Regions from separate parts of the Homo sapiens genome. Here region 2 is linked to region 1. Evidence: promoter capture Hi-C in human tissues and cell types (Jung and others, 2019). All regions are on one chromosome and are shown on one strand. The core of a region is centred on a gene start or on the middle of the fragment in contact, and the rest is flanking DNA. Distances in the headings are between cores, read along the strand shown.

Region 1 (3,378 bases), core at 324-2,823:
GCGGGAGCCCATCCACTCCCCGGCACTAGCATCGAATTAAACCACTTAGTTTGGCAAACACTGAACGCCTAAATGCCCCTATAAAGACTTTATGAGTTTGTTACTTTAATTACTGACTTGTTACAGAGCACATAAAGGGGGTAATGAATGCAATAAAACTAATTATCTACACATTTAATTCATATAAAATATCCAGGGTTTGTTTACACCACACGGCGATTCAGCTAAGCTTTCCCCCTCTTGTCCACCGAGAGGAAGGATTTAATGAAATAGTTTCCCTTATTCTGCTAGGGCCTAACAAACCAAATGAAAATTACCCTCCGCTTAAATCATGGGGCCACTGAAGTCCACAAATCACTGCTCGCTCCTTTGTCTGTGCCTCGCTGCCAGCACCCAAAAGCCTGAGGAATCGGACAAGAAAGGTGCCCGACCTGGAGCCCTTGCCTGGGCATTTACATGGCAAGAATTTCCCTCACTACAGTCCGCAAACCTAAAAGGCAAACAGACACAATCCCCGGGTCTGTGGAGGATTGTGGGCACCTGAAAAAAAAAAAGAGGCGAGAAAGAGGGAGAGCGCCCGAAAGAGATGAAAGAGGAGATACATTTGGGTACACTTCATGCTCGCTTGCCAGTTATGGTGTAATTAAAACGAACAACCTCACAGAAACTCAAACCAACCAAGGCTTGCGCTAATGCAAACAGACAGAACTGAGAGCAAAGAACACAACGGTCGAGAATCCAGATGTTTCACATTCGAAAGCTTTCCTCAGATTTTTTTATTATTATTTTTAAGTGGCTGTATACCCTGAGTCTCTTGAAAGCACATTTAGCTGCAAGAAGAAATGCAATTTATAAGATGCTTTCTCTCTGTCTCTCTTTTTTTTAACCCCCTCTACCAGGTGTATTTTTAAAGAAATCCGCTTATCGTTCACATAAACCCCCTTGGCCCACTTACTCTATGTTACAGGGCGCCTGAGTCTTGCCAATGTCCCAGTCCTTTATAACATTTCATGCACTTCGGGGGGTAGGCTTGTTGTTAAATTGAGCGTGTAACACTCTTACAAAACAGGTTTTCTATGACATCAAGGTTTCTTCTCCCTAACCGAGGGGGAAAAAAAGAAGAGGACGAAGAAGGGGGAAAACACACACACTATCTCAATTTATGCCTAAGGTATATGATCAGTTAAAAAGGCTTAAAAGCTCGGGGAAATTGGATCAGGGAGAATCGTCACCCAACTTTCATTATTTCCAAGTAGTGTGATTGAATTAAAGGGCAGGGAGCTGGTTAGAAGGGAGGATCAGGGGCTCGGTGCGTAATGGTGTGGTATTAAATTCTAATTAGAGATGCAGGAATCAATGATAGGGAGGTTGGACAGCTCAGTTCCCCAGTGCCAGCCCAATAGACGGATGAGTTATTGTCATGTAAAAAGCGCCAGCAATAAGACCAACCGCTTTGCTATTGTCCAAGTGGAAAGAGCCAAGTTTATTATGAGGACTATATGCTCTAGAGACCTCAGACAAGGCATCTCATAGGAGGCTTTTTCATAAAACTAGGCTCTGCTGGTAGTAAGGAGGCCAGTTTGGAGGCAGGCGTTGAGCTGTGCACATCTCCCCACTCCAGCCACCTTCTCCATATCCATCTTTTATTTCATTTTTCCACTTGGCTGAGCCATCCAGAACCTTTTCAATGTATAAAATGGAATATTCTTACCTCAATTCCTCTGCCTACGAGTCCTGTATGGCTGGGATGGACACCTCGAGCCTGGCTTCAGCCTATGCTGACTTCAGTTCCTGCAGCCAGGCCAGTGGCTTCCAGTATAACCCGATAAGGACCACTTTTGGGGCCACGTCCGGCTGCCCTTCCCTCACGCCGGGATCCTGCAGCCTGGGCACCCTCAGGGACCACCAGAGCAGTCCGTACGCCGCAGGTAAGGACCTTCAGCTTTCTCAGCGGAGGAAGCCGCCTTTCCGCCCGTATATAGGAAGCCTTGATTGCATTTGAAAATGGAAATGTGTTTAGTATTTACCAAACGAAATTTGCTTACACAAATGAAAGAATTTATCACGTTAGAAGCGATTGCAGGGAGGGGTAATTCACTTACAGGGTTACACTATCCTAGTCACACCCGAACCGCCAACAAAATTATCTTAAGCTGCCAAAATGATAGGCATAATTTATTTACTTTGCGATGAGACGTAAAGCTTAGAAAATAATTAAATAACAAAGAGTAAAGCTCATTACTGGCAGTGTCTCTTTTTTTAAGAACCGACAGCGGCTCACACCTCTTTGGCTGGTCATTTTTATGATTATTTCTTTAATTTATTATTATTTTTTTGCAGCTCTTTCCCCCAACTTTTGAGCCGGGTCAACTTTCTGAGAATTGAAAAGTTCCCAAAGTGGGACTGTTTGGTAACTTCTTTCCTGGCTCCCTGATATTCCGACTGATGTTTTTGGATTTTTTTCCTCTCTGGTTTTTTCCTGCTGAAAGCACTATCTCAAGTCCGTCACATCGCGCTGTTTCAATCCACCCAAAGGCGCTTGTGCCAGAAAGGACTCCGCCAAGCCCGAAGTTTGAGCCCAGGTTTCCGCAGATAACAAATTTCCTCGGTTTCTTCCCGCAGCTTCTCTCGGCAACTCTCTCGCGCGGGTGTAGGTAGCGGCTGCCGTATGACCTGACCTTGGAGTCCTCACATTCTAGCTCCACGGCCGGCGAGCTGCCGGCTGATTTGCTCACTTTCTGTCTCCTCTGTCATACTCTAGTTCCTTACAAACTCTTCACGGACCACGGCGGCCTCAACGAGAAGCGCAAGCAGCGGCGCATCCGCACCACTTTCACCAGTGCCCAGCTCAAAGAGCTGGAAAGGGTCTTCGCGGAGACTCACTACCCCGACATCTACACTCGGGAGGAGCTGGCCCTGAAGATCGACCTCACAGAGGCGCGAGTCCAGGTACGCGCGCCTGGAAACCGACCCCGCTCCGCCGCACTGGTCCGGGGAGGTGTGGGGTGAGGGGCGGCTGGTGAAATTCGAAGTCCTGGAGCCTCGAGTGAGAAGGACCTAGGGCCCCATGGCCGATCAGAAATACTGGATTTGGTGTGGCTGTGCGTTCGAGAGAGGCTTAGAGCGCACGCTCTTGGCATTTTATTTACAGTTGCGAAGTGTTTCCCACCCGAGCAGAGACATGGGGGGCCTTGGGACGTGGATGAGCGATGCAATTTCGGGGACAGGAAGTGCCTGTGGTGGAAGGTGTGCAGACTTTGCTCCCGTATTATAAGTTTTTCCTTCTCCCCTCCCGCCCCCCAAAAAAATGCCTCCTAACTCAAGTGCTTTTAACCTGGCCCCATGGCATATAGGTTCATTTTCCCGGAAACTGTGACT
Region 2 (3,247 bases), core at 662-3,161, 130 kb before region 1:
AGCTTGTTATCTGACCTGGCCATCCCCGTCACATTCTTTCTACAAGTTATCTTTTCTCCAACCAGGGTATTTGGAGATTATTCGCACTGAATTTTCTGCCCGCCAAGAACGAATAGGATTGCCAAGCCACACCACTTTTTGGAGCCCGCTTATTCGCGCCTATCCACCCTCTCCTGTGCCCCAGGTTCCCTGAGCACGGGAATCCTTTCCGGGCATGGCCAAGTTTGTTCGGTGGCTCAGAGCGGGAAGGGAAGTGCAGTTCGACACCTGTCCAGCTGCTCCGCTTGGAGATCAAAGGCCGGCTATGGGCTGAGCGACAGATTTACGGGACGGTGGTACAGATTAAGGCGAGAACCCTGCCGGTCCTGGACTCGAGTTCGCACCCAAGGAAAGCGTACAGGTCCCTGGAAGCGGGTGGATGTCGGAGAGGCCGAGGCAGCCTGCGCTGTGGCCAGGCAGGCTTGGTGGGCTTTAGTCTCAGTATGTGTTCTTTAAAGTCTTGACAGGTTATTAGTAAAGGAAGGGGCACCCCAGGGTCATGAAGATGCTTCTCGCTCTGGCCCAAGCATGCTGAGGCTCGCTTATTCCTCGGCCAGGCCCAGTAAAACAGCTCAAGCACAGCCTGGAGTCTTCCCGCATCTGCGCGGGAGTAGAGTCTGGCTTTGGGCCCCGCGTACCCCGCAGTCGTCGGGGACCAGTTCGAGGCCACGGGAAGGGTTTCCGCGGCAGGGCGCGGAGTAAAGAGGGGAAGAAGGAATCCTCTCCGCGTGATCAGTAGGGCGGGCTTGTGATACTCTCACACCCAGGTTCCAGCTCAGCCCCCAAACTGCTGCCCCAAGAAAACAAGTTGGGGAGTGTGGATTTAGACATAACAACGGGTGTGAGCTGATGTCCTTACAACCAAAAATATTGAGACTAGAAATTCAGCTCCGAATCCACGACCCTCAGATTGATGCTTAATCGCACCCTCGACTCCAGAAAAGCTGCCGGGGACAGACATGGACAGGTTTTGCCAAGGGTTCATTAAAATAGTCTGCACTGGAATAACCGGGGTGCAAGAGATCACGTCTTCACTCAGGGCTTTGGGGATCCCCTCGTCGCCCCAGGTCAGTGGGTGGGGAGGAGGGCAAACTTCTGTCTTTTGTTTGTGGGTGAGGGATGCGAATTGTGGCAGCAGCCGAGAAAAGGGGGGAAATTAATTGCAGCCAATTAATAATTAATCCCCTTTAAACAGCTTTATTATCTCTTCTGGGCGACAGAGATTTGTCTGATAACCCCCTGAAGACCAAATGTCAAGTTTAACCAAATAGTTATTGCTTTATCAACCCGAGTCTGCAAATAAATTAATCAAAAGCAAATCTGTCCTTTGTGCGGCTCATTTGCTGGTAATGGATGGATATGAAGATTTGCCGATATTATTGTCTGTCATTCAATCTAACAAAGTGAACATTTATTGCATATATATTAAAAATTATCCCGGAATCGAGTGGCGCCGGGTTGCATTTATTGGAGTCTTCCCAGGGGTGAGGTCCCCTCGGATGGGGGCGCGTGGGATAGAAAGTGCAGGAGCGCGAGTCTCAAATCTCTTTAGGACTCTGTGCCTGCCTCTGTCCCCCTCCCCGCAGCGACCTCCCTCTATCCCCTTCCCTAGCCTTCGCCCCGGAGCCGCAGGACGTGCCTGCAGCCTCCTGTCGCGCGGCCAGGGCCAGCGGGGCGCGGGGAGCCCAGCTACTGTCAAAACAGAGTCCTTCAGCCTTAAGCACTCACAAGGGGTCCGGCCCTAGGAAATGTGGGGAGGGGGTGTGATTGAAGAGAGAGAAACGGGAGGGGGACAGCTTTCCTTTGTCTTCTCTCGAGTTACATCATTTTCTAATTAGGCATAAAATTGTCTTCATACACTGGTATTGCGGCCTTCATAAACATCGCCATTATGGTTTATAAGGACGCCATTGTGGTGAGGCTGTCCCAAAATAGAAAGAGCTGGGGAGGGAGAGGCCTGGAGTCCGGGAGGCCCCGCTTTGTCCTCCCCTGGGAGAAGATGGATGGCCAGTGTCACGCAGATGATGACTTGGGACTATTAAATTGTCAGAGGGGGGCAGAATCTTTACCAGCCCCCAGCGCTGGTGGAAAATTCTAGAGGCAGGAGCCGGGGGTTCTTGGATGGGAGGGGAAGGCCGGGCAGCTGGATTCGCTGGGCAGGTGGAAAAAGAGGTAAGTTAGTCGCTGGCAGAGGCAGAGCGGAGGGCAGTGGGGGCCGAGGCTTTGATCTCCTCCCGGGGCACCCTGACTTCGCTGCTCTCTGAGCTCAGGGCCACTGGATCTGGAGCTGACCTCCCACCCGATCCCCATCGCCAAGGTTGGGAAACAAGCAGGGCTAGAGAAATGAGAGGGGCAGCGAACCCGGAGGAGCGGCGGAGGGCTATGCCAGGCGGGGAGACAATTGTTCTCATTATTCGGAGCTGAGGCCCAAGCCCGGCCACCCGCCCGGTCGGGGGGCGCGTCGCTAACTGGATGGAGATGGATGGAGGCGCCCTGAGCCCCCGGCGTCGTGTCAGACCCGGGGCAATTACTGTCCCGCCAGGATGGACACACTGCCCTGCCATCCTGACCCCGGCGCGCAGGCCCACTGGCCCACTGGCTGCCTAAGCCGCCTGGGCGATTCTCTCTCTCGCCTTTACAATAACCCAACTTGACATAAATAACTCCCCTGAGCTTGTCTACATCTGCTTGACCTCCTGAACCCGCGGAAAATCTTTTGTTGCATTTAGCTAACTTACATTTTTCTATAGAAAAAAAACTTTTAAAACTGCATATTCTAGCCTCGGCTTATTCACCTCTAGTTCGGTCTCTGGTATATGTTGGAATTCACATTGCCCTTCCAAATCATGGAGGACAGTTCCCTCCTGCGAAGACAGGTTTCTCCCTGTTTATGCTGCGGGCACAAGTGTGCTGTTCCGGGTGTCCTGAGTTTTGCAAGGTGGCCTACAGACACTTGGTGCTCCAGGAAGTGGTCAGGTCTCCAAAATCCTCTCCCCTGGTAGCTGGGGTGGGAGTGGGGGCCAAAAGGGTGAAGAGGACAGCAGTTCTCAGGAGTGCTGATGCCCTGCTTGGTCCTGGCTGTCTAAGGGTGCAGCTAGGCGACAAGGCCAGTTGGCAGAAGCAGCCAGGTGCCCCACGTGTGCTCTCTCGCTGACCTGATCTGGCAGGGTTAGGAAGGGGCCAGCCCTGGAAGTGCCAAGCTGGCGCC

Evidence for each region. The method cuts DNA at HindIII sites, captures the fragments that hold promoters and counts their contacts. A contact is called where the count stands out against the background at its distance.
Region 2: a fragment that was not itself captured here is called in contact with the fragment with the promoter of PHOX2B in region 1 in 1 of the 25 tissues and cell types used here (mesendoderm cells).

The regions. Positions count from the first base shown.
Region 1 is chr4:41,746,920-41,750,297 of GRCh38, reverse strand. PHOX2B (paired like homeobox 2B) reads left to right here and starts at 1,573. Exons shown (of 3, transcript NM_003924.4): 1 at 1,573-1,928; 2 at 2,762-2,949. The coding sequence starts at 1,688. PHOX2B-AS1 (PHOX2B antisense RNA 1) reads right to left here and starts at 1,949. Exons shown (of 4, transcript NR_187403.1): 1 at 1,712-1,949. The HindIII fragment of the contact is 4,691 bases long and covers 496-3,378 here.
Region 2 is chr4:41,877,632-41,880,878 of GRCh38, reverse strand. It overlaps LINC00682 (long intergenic non-protein coding RNA 682), which reads left to right. Exons shown (of 2, transcript NR_104143.1): 2 at 66-1,358. Among named protein-coding and RNA genes, the nearest start is that of LINC00682, 3.4 kb to the left of the region's middle. RefSeq lists an enhancer at 318-1,070. The HindIII fragment of the contact is 7,009 bases long and covers 1-3,247 here.